Regions from separate parts of the Homo sapiens genome. Here all the other regions are linked to region 2. Evidence: promoter capture Hi-C in human tissues and cell types (Jung and others, 2019). All regions are on one chromosome and are shown on one strand. Each heading gives the region's core, a stretch centred on a gene start or on the middle of the fragment in contact. The rest is flanking DNA. Distances are from core to core; before and after follow the strand shown. Region 1 overlaps NUDCD3 (NudC domain containing 3). Region 2 holds the start of CAMK2B (calcium/calmodulin dependent protein kinase II beta). Region 3 overlaps YKT6 (YKT6 vesicular SNARE protein). Region 4 overlaps NUDCD3 (NudC domain containing 3).

What was found. Contacts are between HindIII fragments. The study calls those that stand out against the background at their distance.
Region 1: a contact is called between a fragment that was not itself captured here and the fragment with the promoter of CAMK2B in region 2, in 3 of the 25 tissues and cell types used here (IMR-90 fibroblasts, dorsolateral prefrontal cortex and lymphoblastoid cells).
Region 3: a fragment that was not itself captured here is called in contact with the fragment with the promoter of CAMK2B in region 2 in 2 of the 25 tissues and cell types used here (dorsolateral prefrontal cortex and lymphoblastoid cells).
Region 4: a fragment that was not itself captured here is called in contact with the fragment with the promoter of CAMK2B in region 2 in 3 of the 25 tissues and cell types used here (dorsolateral prefrontal cortex, mesenchymal stem cells and spleen).

What each region holds. Positions count from the first base shown.
Region 1 is chr7:44,413,243-44,415,994 of GRCh38, reverse strand. All of the region lies in intron 3 of NUDCD3 (NudC domain containing 3), which reads left to right. Among named protein-coding and RNA genes, the nearest start is that of NUDCD3, 76 kb to the left of the region's middle. The HindIII fragment of the contact is 4,891 bases long and covers 1-2,752 here.
Region 2 is chr7:44,323,981-44,326,849 of GRCh38, reverse strand. It overlaps CAMK2B (calcium/calmodulin dependent protein kinase II beta), which reads left to right and starts at 1,256. Exons shown (of 24, transcript NM_001220.5): 1 at 1,256-1,493. The coding sequence starts at 1,429. The HindIII fragment of the contact is 12,993 bases long and covers 1-2,869 here.
Region 3 is chr7:44,209,157-44,212,033 of GRCh38, reverse strand. It overlaps YKT6 (YKT6 vesicular SNARE protein), which reads right to left. Exons shown (of 7, transcript NM_006555.4): 6 at 910-1,011. Among named protein-coding and RNA genes, the nearest start is that of YKT6, 9.6 kb to the right of the region's middle. The HindIII fragment of the contact is 4,219 bases long and covers 1-2,877 here.
Region 4 is chr7:44,432,387-44,435,134 of GRCh38, reverse strand. The region is part of intron 2 of NUDCD3 (NudC domain containing 3); the gene reads left to right. Among named protein-coding and RNA genes, the nearest start is that of NUDCD3, 57 kb to the left of the region's middle. The HindIII fragment of the contact is 4,995 bases long and covers 1-2,748 here.

The DNA.
Region 1 (2,752 bases), core at 24-2,523, 89 kb before region 2:
GTATCTCTTGGATTTTGCTTGTCTAAGTGTTTTTCTTCAGAGCTGTACTTTCTTTCTGGCCTGGCCAGTTATTCCCTAAGTCTACCTGTCACGGTTGCCTGTCAGCAGTGTTTATTTTTGTTTTTTGTCTGTGGCACCTATGGGACATTGTCACGATGGTAACCCCGGCTGCAACAACTCAACTGATAAAATCAGAATCTGTTCTGGGTTGGTGATTCAGGGGCTTTGCTTAGGCAGCCCAGTGTTTGTGTTGGGGCTGTGGATAGAGCTTCACAGGAGAGCCAGATCCTCTACTCTCCAGCTGTAGCTTGATGCAGGCATTATCAGAGCTTTGCCTCTCCTGGAGTTTCTCATTGATCCCTTTTCTGTAGAATGGGTATGATGAGTTCACACTTGCTCTCTCAAGGGTAGTAGGAGACAAATAAGAGTGTATGCATAATGCTTTATGTTCTTTAGAAGAAAACTAGAAAGTGTTCCTATTTTACATCGTAACATTTAAAAAAAATCATCTTGCTAGTGAATCTGAAAGAAAACTTCTCAAAATGAAGCTTTTAATTTCATACATTAGTAAAATGTGGTTAGGTCTTTTCCATCACATGTTCTTTGCTCAATCTACTCTGCTCTGTTTAGGAAAAGCAGCTGACTCCCTCTCTCTCTCTCTTCAGTGTACCCACAGAATAGAGACAAGGAACTTTGAGTTAATGACAGATGTTTTTGTGATTGCTCATGTCAGACCTGGGTGATTATAAACCTGGCATTTCATTGAATCACAGAATTGGAATGCTTTTGAAAATTAAACTCCAGAGATTTTTAGTTTAACCTCTCATTTTGCAGATGAGAAAACTCTCATGGTGGGTTGATGGTAGATCATAGACCAGAACCAAGGTCCCGTCACCTCCACCCTGTTTTATGGCCTTATTGCAAATGAAGTCATGATTGGATGTTATTGAGTGACAAGTGAATCTGTTTCCCTTGAGTCTTCTTCCTCTCATAGATTGTGAGTGGTCCTGCAGGCTGGTGCAGTCACTGTTGTGACCTGCCATCTTTGTCCTCACCTTGGGTACCTTTTGGAACACCACCTTAGCCACTAGGTGTGTCATTTATGGCTCTAACTGATCCCCAGGCTTAGATTCGTAGTGAGGCCTTGCCTGTGAGCTTGATGTAAGTGCTGGAATTTGTGTTAAAAGCTCCATAACGTGTTCTTAGAAGTTGCTTAGGAAAAAATGCAGGAAAACGTTTTATTATAGGAAACTTCCATAACAGAAAAGACTAATAGACTGCATTATTTTTGTATTTACATAATTTTTGAGTGCATAACACATTTATATGTTCAAAAGCAAAAACTTGTATAACAACACAAAAATCCCTGTCCTGCCTCTGTGTCTTTTCTGTCTTGTCCTGACCCCTCCCCAGCCAGCCCTAACCTAAGTCATCACATAACTGGTTTTGGGGATATTTCAACAAATATTTTTATGCATGTATAATCAAGTATGAACATGTATTGCTGTGTCCCCACCTTTAGCACAGATGGTGCATTCCACTTTTTAAGATGATCTTACTGCCCCTGCCCAGTGTCATTTTGGCCGCACCAAAGTGACTCCCATCTCTTTTTACTTCCATGTCCCCAAGTGCCTGAGGGGTGCCCAGTAAATTCTAGGTAGACTTTGCTTTCCCTGGTCATCTGGCTCAAGTGCCCCAAACCCACCATCCCTCACACCTGGGACTCCTGTTCTTTGCTTTTGCCCCCTTCAAACTATAGGCTGATTATTAAACCACCCTCTTGTTAATGGACATTTAGGTTGTTTCCAATCTTTCCTGTTGTAAACAATAAAACAATGCCCTTTAATAAACTTCATTTTGCGTATATGCATTTTCATATAGAAAAAATTCCATGAAGTGTAGTTGCTATATTGAAAGGTATATGTATTTCTAATTTCTTTCTTTTTTCTTTTTTTTTTTTGAGACAGGGTTTTGTTCTGTTACCCATCATGGCCCGCTGCAGCCTTGTCCTCCCTAGGCTTAAGCAATCTTCCCATCTCAGTCTCCTGAGCAGCTGGGACTACAAGCGTGCACCACCATGCCCAGCTGATTTTTTGTATTTTGTAGAGATGGGGTTTTCCTTTGTTGCTCAAGAAGCTGGTCTTGTACTCCTGGGCACAAGCAGTCCATTTACCTTGGTCTCCCAAAGTGCTGGGATTACAGGCGTGAGCCACCACACCCGGCCTGTATTTCTAATTTCTGTAAGTGTTGCTAAACTATCTTCCATATGGGGTTATACTAACTTACATATCCATCAACAATGTACAAGAGCCCTTGGTTTTTCACAAATTTGCTGACAATAGTATGTTATCAAATTTTGGGGTTTCGTAAGTTGAATAGATGAAAAATAGTATCTATGTGTAGTATGAATTTGTATTTCTCTTAGAGTGAGGTGGAGCATCTTTCTACATGTGCCTATCCTTTGAACTAGTTATATCTTTTGCCCATTTTCTATTAGGTTGCTGTACTTTTTCTTACTGATTTCTAGGAGTTCTGTATATATTAGAGAGATCAGTCCTTTGTAGGTGATATGTATTGCAGATCTGTTTTCCCATTTTGTTATTAACCTTTTGAGTTGATTTATATTGATTCTCCCGTCTCAGCCTCCCAGGTAGCTGAGACCACAGGCACGAACTGCCATGCCCAATTAATTAAAAATTTTTTTTTTGTAGAAATGGAGTCTCCCTGTGTTGTTCAGGCTGGTCTTAAACTC
Region 2 (2,869 bases), core at 7-2,506:
TGAGAGGGATGAGCAGGATAGGCCCAGAATTGGTCCTTGGGGAGCAGTAAGGAAGTCATATCAGGGCAGCAGCGTGACCCAAATCCAGAGCTGGCTGCTGGAAACCCCCTCCTCAGAGCCTGCCCAGGATGGACCCCGTCAGAGAAGAGTGTGGGGATGCTGGAGCCCAGTGGTCTAAAGTCCCGGTTCTGGACAGCAGCCCTGGTGCCAGGCCTCAGGGAAGGCTGTTTTGTGGGAAACCGGGTCGCCCTGCCTCCTGCCTGCCTCCCTGCACTCTCCTCCTCCTTGGCTGCTTTCAGGAGGGGGTTGGGGTGTGTGGGCCCTCCTCCTCCAGGCAAAAGCAGGGGGCAGGCAGGTGGACCGTGCTGGAAAAGGAGAGAATGTGCACCTTTACCTGATCAGGGTGGCTGTGAGCTCTCAGGCCCCCCAAATTGCTGGTGGAGCAGCCCCTGTTCCCCTGGCTCAGGGTCCGTTGGTCTGGACTCCGAATGTTGCCTCCTGGGACCTCCATTCCAGACAACCCAGCAACCAGTCTTTGGAGAAGTGAGGGGGAAGGGAGGGGCTGGGGCCAAGGGGAGGGGGCAGGCCCCACCCTTTCACTTTCTCATGCTAGTGACCCAGTGTGTACACTGCCTTCTGGGCGGTTCCTCCTGGCCAGGCAGCCTTTGGGGCATGTGTGGCTGATGGAGACTGGGCAGAAGGGATCTGGCAGCATCTCTTCCTGAGGGTGTGAGGAATGAGTCCTGTGGAGGGCAGCACATGAGCCCTCTACCTCCATGTGGGCCCCAGTCCCCTCCTGCTGTCAGGCTAGGTGGGCCTTCGAGAGAGAGAGAGGAGGCTGCGTTCATTATGTGCACTCTTCTGTGTTATGTGAGAGCGAGGGGTCGGCAGCAGCAAGTGGCCTGCGTGCGCGAGGTGCGGGCGTGGTGCGGGTAGAGGATGAAGGCGTCAGTACAGGGCGCGGGTGTGTGTGTGGGGTGCGGGGGCGGGCGGGGGCGGGCGCGCGTGTGAGTGCAGGTGCAGGTGCAGGTGCGTTGCGGGTGCGGGGCAAGGGTGTGTGTGCAGGGCGCGTGTGCAGATGCAGGGCGCCGGTGCCCTGCGGGTGCGGGTGCAGGAGCAGCGTGTGCAGGGCGCGGGGAAGGCGCGTGCAGGGGGCGGCGGGCGGGGCGGGCGCGGCGGCGGCGGCGGTGACAGCGGCGCCCGCGCCTCCCCGCGCGTAGGTGTGCGGCGCGCTCCTGGCGAGGACGGAGCGAGCAGATCTCGCGTGCGCTCGCCGCCCGGCGCAGCCCAGCCCGGCCCCCGCCTGGCGCCGCGAGCCGAGGTGTCTCCCGCGCCCGCGCCCGTGTCGCCGCCGTGCCCGCGAGCGGGAGCCGGAGTCGCCGCCGCCCGAGCGCAGCCGAGCGCACGCCGAGCCCGTCCGCCGCCGCCATGGCCACCACGGTGACCTGCACCCGCTTCACCGACGAGTACCAGCTCTACGAGGATATTGGCAAGTAAGAGCAGCGGCGCGCGCGGGCTGGGCCGGGGACCCCAGAGGGCCGGGACCTCCGGGACCCTCCGCGCCGCCGGCTCCAGGCGCACTGCGGGCCCGCGCGCCGCCGGCTTCTCTGGGCTCCGGGCCCAAGCGCACGGCCCCGCGCGGCCCCGACCCGCGAGCCCCCGGCCCCGGGCCTGGCTGCCTGACCTCAGCGCGCGCGGCCCTGCCCAGCTCTGCCCAGCGCGGCTGCCGGGCCGGGGCTCCGGGCTCGCGACTTGGCGCGGCGGGGGCGGCAGCAGGTGTCCCCGGAGCGCCCGGCAGACGTGACGCATTTGGCGGCGGGGAGGTCAGAGAGGAGGGGCGCGCGGGGGTGGCCCCCGGGCCTGGAGCGCCGGGAGGGGTCGGCTGCGGCCCCAGAGGGTCGTCCCCGACGCGGGTGCGCTGTCCCCACCCCCACCCGAGCGGCAGGCGGCGGGGGTGGCGGGACCTGCTTGCGCCTGCTCCTGCGCGTGGCCCCATCCGCGCTGGGGGTGCCGGCGTGGGAGAGCCTCTGCTGTAGGTCCCCTGGGGAATCTGGGTTCTGGAGGATTTTCCCCCAGATTCTTCTGGAAACAGGAATTTGGAGGTGTGGGGAGGACGAGGTCAGGGAGCCTGGATCAGGTCATGGGGATAGCGGGGAGAGACTAAGAGCCTGACTGGATTGCAAATTTCAGGGTCATCGAGGTGGATGGGGGCTGGATTTTGGACTGTTGGCGGGGGCGCCCTAAAGGGGAAGGGGCTTTGAAGGTTTGTTTGAAGTGGGACCTCACGGGGAACAGGTGCTGTGGCTCCCGTTCTCTCCTTGGCAGTATGAGCAGTGTAGGGCGAAGGTCTGGTTCGTGGTCCCCGGACCCGGCTTTGCCCCTGGGGTGAGATGGGGAGCGCCTCAGGGGCCTCCTGTCTGGCCTGGGGTCTCCCGTTCTGAGAATCAAGGTGGCTGCACCTGGCATCCCTAGGGCTAGCTTCAGAACTCCTGAATCTCCAGCCTGACTGGGCCAGAGCCCCATCCTCCTGCGTCCTCCCCCATCCTCCTCCGTCCCTTCAGTGCAGGCGGTGGGGGCGCTGGCGGTGCTGGCGAGATTTCCTCTTACACATCCAGCAACAGATCCTTTTTTTCCTTTACTAAATAAGTGTCTGGTGAAACCTTGTGGTGGGTGAGGGACGCTGATCATTGATAATTGTGGAGTGCGGAGCTGGAGGAGTGTGGGGGTGTGTTCATTCCCCACTTCTCCCTGCACGTGTGGAGAGAATTCTGGTAGGGGTTAGGGATGTGGAGCCCAGCCCTGCAAGAAGCCCATGCTGGATGGGTGGGGTGGGGGGCCAGGCTGGCTGGGGGACCCTTCCTTGGGTGGA
Region 3 (2,877 bases), core at 328-2,827, 120 kb after region 2:
GGGATCCTTTTTCCTTTCTTTTCTCACACCCCATTAATGCTATCAAAAAGTGAGTAAAATTCCTACAGTTAGGCCAGGTACAAACAAAGGACCAATAATACAAATGGGATTGGCAGAATATCTTAACTTTGCCCCACTCCTGTCTTCACACAATGCTATCTGACCACCACGGTGGTGTTTCTTCCTAGAAGATGGTCCTGAGGACAACAGATGTGGTTCCCACTTGGGATGTGGTTTGTGGGGACCACTGTTGCCACCTTCTCTCTTGCTTTCTGGTCACAGACTATCTTCCTAATCCCACCTAGCCATCTCCCTCCAATGTGCACATGAAAGCAAATGTGTGTGGACAGACCAAGTAAATTTGTCCCTATGACTATCCAACCATGGGCCAACAGTGCCATCTCCACATAGGAAGACATGAGCACTGACCTGAGAGAAAGCGGCAGTCAGCAGCACCCATCCTTGTCAATTAAATATTTTCTGTCAAAGGGAAATTAAAAGCTTAAGAACCTCTTCAGGAAGGCTGAATTGCTTGCATCTTAAAGACTTATGTCTACTCAGCAGAAAGAGGAATAAGATTCAACAGTAAATCTCTGGTGATCAGAACTTGAACCAGCCTTCCTGGACTGGGAGTAGGAGTTCAGAAATCAGCCAGAGCAGCAGAGGGCAGAGCAGAGGCAGGAGTGGAACAAGGCCTCGGCCCGCATCGACTCCAACGGCGCCCAAGTGAACTGCCTCCAACCACCTGGGCCTGAGGCGCTCACCTTAGGCTCTTGCCGCACAAGGAATCATCCACCATGATTCAACAGTCTAAGAAAGACCCGTTCATAGTGGAGAGTGCCAGAAGCAGCAAGCTGCGACTGCTCTCTAGAGAGAACACCCAGGAGGCAGCAGGTGCTGGGTACTCACAGTTTTATAGAAGGCTTTAGACTGTGTTCCCAGCACCTCGGATTTGGACACCAAGTCATCTAGCTTCTCACCTCGCTCTAACAGAGACTCCATGGTGTTGTGCTGGACAAAAAAGAAAAGAGAATCCAGCTCTGTTCAGTACGTGCCCTGACATGAGCCCCTCATATTTCAGTCATGGGGGAAAGTGCCTTACCTGGGTTCCTCTCCAACACACACAAACTTCACCTCTAGGTGTCGAGACTCGGTCCAAGAATAGTTACTGTCCAAGTGGATGGAACAGAACCTGGTGACATTCCCGTGAAATCTAGAAGATCTAACTGGGATGTAGCAGACTTCCCAAAAAGCTGTCCCCAGCACAGGCTTAGATAACCAGCACTCCAGGAAAACTCATATATATATATACACACACATTTATATATACATTTGTGTGTGTGTGTGTGTGTGCACGCACATGTGCGTGTGCATGGAGCTTTGGAAAAAAGAGTAGCTGGGCACTATATGATTGTACTGGGTTGGAGAGTGACCCACACCGCACCCCCCAACCCCAACCGCATCCCAGAAATTAACATCCCCAGAATCTCTGAATGTGACCATATTTAGAAATAGGGTCTTGGCAGATGTAACTAGTTAGGAAGAGGTAATACTGGATTAGGGTGGCATCTAATTCCATGACTGATGTCCTGGTAAGAAACGGAAACACACACACAGAAGGTCACGTGACGGCAGAGGCAGAGCCTGAAGTGATGCACCTCTAATCCAAGGAATGCCAAGGATGGCCAGCAGCCACCAGAGGCTGGAGAGAGGCCTGGGACAGACACTCAGAGCCCCAAAAGACACCAGCCAGGCCCACAGAGCTATCTGTTAAAAGCAAATATTTGAGGGTTTCTGTTGACAGCAGCCACAGGAAACAAAAGGCGGTGGGAAATGGCTATTGAGCACTTGATGTGAGGCAAGTCCAAACTGAGCAGCGCTCTGAGTACAGACACACCAGATTTCAGATGCAAACTCACACATGCTTCATTAGTAAGTTTTATACTGAAAAAAAAACAAGTTTTATACCGATTACATGTTGGAAAAATTGTATTTGGATATACTGCGTTAAGTAAAATATATAATTAAATTAAATTCTACCTATTTTCCTTTTATCATTTTAAAATATGGCTCCTAGAAAATTCTAAGTTACACACATGCCCCAAATATATACCAGACAGCACTATGACAGAACATGTCCTGCCTTCTAAATGGGCTATGTCCTAAATGTCATCACTACAAACTCTGACTTAGGAAATGAAAACACTGACCCCATGGGAAGGGGTCTAGAGATGGAGACCTCACAAGAGCCAGCAGCTCTGCTGCCAGGGCCCTCAGGAAGCAGCAGCTCGCTTCTCTCCTCAGATGGCCACTGCTGCAGCAGCTAGATGCACACATGAAGCGCCATAGAACAAGGAGCCAGCAAGAATGTCCTTCATCCCTACACACAGCTGAGCGACTCAAATTTTTAACACAGAAAGTTAACTGATTCAGATATGCACACCAATCATCTAGATTTTACAACTGCAGCTAGATGAGGCTGGGTGAATAGGACTCATCCACTCCCCACCGTGGGGAGAGGAGAAACAGCGGGTGTCCCAGGTGTCATGGTACTCAGACTAGGACTTGAGCAACAGAAAGAGATGGCTTGAGGAGAAAACGGAGAAATGCCACCTAGGTGGTAAGAAAGCTCACAAGGTTTCAAAAGACACAGATACCATGAGACTTTCACATCTATCGTTCATTCCAAAGCCACGTTATTTGGAGTGCAGTCAGCACACCTGTGTTTGAAGCCCCTGGGATGCTTTTTATAAAATGCAGGTTCCCAGGCTCCATCGCAGGCCAACAACTCCAACCCCAGGAGACGCTGATGTACACACTAAAGCTATGCCTGTGTAAATGGTAAAGCTTTGTATGTGGGTTTCAATCCACTCCAGG
Region 4 (2,748 bases), core at 138-2,637, 110 kb before region 2:
TTAGAAAAATCTAAAAAAAGTGTAGAATTATTAGGCAATAAAGAAGTGTAGAATTACTAGGCAAAAGACATAACTTCTCTCTCCAAATGTCTCAGAGGGTTCAAGAATCATCCCATAGTCATAAAAGCTGCTCAGTGAGTTCTTTCCATAGCCAAAGACTTTCTAAAGGGAAAGCAGTGAGTGAGAAAGCAATACTGAGTGTCACGAGACCTTGTTTTAGTCATTTTAAATGGTTTGTTCCTCACAGCTACCTTTTGGGAGAGATGCTATTAGTGTTCCCATTTTATAGGTCAGGAGACCAAGGCACAGAGAGGCTGAGTGACCTAGTCACCGTTACCTGGTTGCTGTGCGGGGAAGCTGGGCTTGACCTCAGGTTGGACACCACGGACACACAGAGCATTCAGGGAAACTGCTTGACTGCTAGGGGACTGGCTTGGAGACATTGATTTGTAGGACATACTTGAGACCAGAGCCCGTGGCCTGGGGTGGCTGCTTGCTGCATTGGCATCAAACCTTTTGTGTGTCTGGCTGAGGTGGCAGGGTATCCACAGTTGGCCTGATATTGCGGGGCGGGGGGGTCACATCCCTGCTAGTAAAGAAGCATGAACTTAGAAATAATGCATCCACAACAATGAAAGGAGCCTGGCGGGTAGGGGAACCTCAGTGAGAGCTGGGCAGCAGGCAGGGAGGCACCACCCTCTAGACAGACGAATCTGGCAAGAGTTGCAGGAAGGCTGGTTAGTGTGAGGTGCTTGTCTGTGTGGAAGCCTGGGAGTAGTGACTGGCTCCAGCCTGTCCCTTTGTAAGTGAAAAGGTTGAAGGCTGCAGAGGCCAAGACCAAGGCCCAGGCTACGTCTGGGTTGCTGGCGTTGGGGCAGACCTGGCAGCTGGGGGCCCAGGGCTGGGGTCCAGGCATCGAGTCATTTTTGAGCACTGAAATCAGCATGAGTGGACGAGCTCTCAGGAGTGAACACTCCTAGGAAGATAAAACCGAGAAGTAGGAAGTGGGCCTGGCAGACCATGAGTTTTAGGCTTCAGAAGCAGGGCAGTGGGCCTCAAGGATGGGTCATTTTTATAATAATGCTTATTTTGTAAAGCTTTGAAAATGAAGAAACCCAGAAGAAAATTCACCGTATTTCCATCAGGTGGAAGAAATCTTGAGTTGAGATTGAGCATAGGCAGAGAAGAGTTGACAGATGAGGAGGAGGATTCATTTGTGGGAGCAGGAGGAAAAAGGGAGGAAGGAGTCATGACGACTCAATCATGGGCTACCTCGAGTGCCTTGCTGAGGCCCTGGCCTTGTCTCCTGGGCCGTGGGGAGCCATATGAGGTTGTTGAGAATAATGTAATCACAGTGGCATGTGAAGAAACTGAGAAGAGACGCAGCCATGGCTGCCATCCAGGTGTGGGATGTGCCAGGTCAGTGAGATGAGAAGAAAATTGATAAGAGACAGGTGAGAATTTCAAGGGAGGGAGTGAGCCATGTCTGCTGGTTGCCTCATACCCATGGCACGTACATCACACACATATATACTGCGTGCCCATACTATACCTTATGCACGCATATGCACACTGTGTGCATACATGCATACCACACACATGCACATAGCACACACACACTGCATGCCCACATGCACCACACACACATTGCATGCACATGTGCACCACACACATACACCACACACACAAACTGCACACACAGTACATGTGCCCACATGCACATGCAGGTACACATGCACCAGCCGCATGCATGTGGCACACACACATTGTATGCACACACGTACCCCACACACACATATAGTGCACACATACTTTTACCACACAGTGCACTGCACACATGCCACACACATGTACTATACACACACACACACATGTTGGCCTAGTCCATTTGGGCTACTATAACAAAATAGCATAGCCTGGGTAGCTTCTGTGAGAAATTTACTTCTCACAGTTCTGGATGTTGGAAGTCCAAGATCAAGGCACCAGAAGATTCAGTGTCTGGGGAGGCCCTGCTTCCTGATTCATGGACCTCTGTTTTCTTGTGGTGTCCTCCCATAGTGGAAGGGATGAGGAAGCTCTTTGAGGCCTCCATGTAAGGGCACTAATCCCACTCAGAGCCTCCACCCTCATGACCTAATCACCTTCTAAAGGCCTTACCTCCTACTGCCATCACCTTCGGGGTTAGGATTTCAAGATACACGTTTTAGGGGAACACAAACATTTCAGACCCTAGCACATATATGTACATTGCACCCAGATGTTGTGGGACCTCTCCTGAGGGGACAGTGAGGTCAACAGGTGGTGAGGTGTGATGACAGCTCTTACACCTGGGATAATGGAAGGAGATGAGGGTGACAGGGATGTTGTCATCTTTGCACAGAGTAGTGGCTTTTGCGCAATGTAGTTAAGGGCAATGTAGTTAAGAGTGTGAACATTTAAAGGGTAGACAGGATTGATTGCAAGAGACATGAAAGAACAGCTGTATTTGGGGTGGTGGAGAGGGGGTTGACAAACCGGGCCTCAATCACTGAGCCCCAGGGGGCGGGAAGTGGGGAGCAGCAAGCTTGACATTTCTGTGCAAACACCTCCGCTTTGGAATCACTGGCTGTGACTTGGGGAGCCAAACCTTGCCTTTAGTCAGGCAGTCAGTGCCTATCATAGGCATTCTCTCTCTGGAGAAGAGCTTGAGGTCAGCCCTTGTCTCATTGAATTATAAATCTATTATAGGTTTGGGGCTCTAGCTTCCTA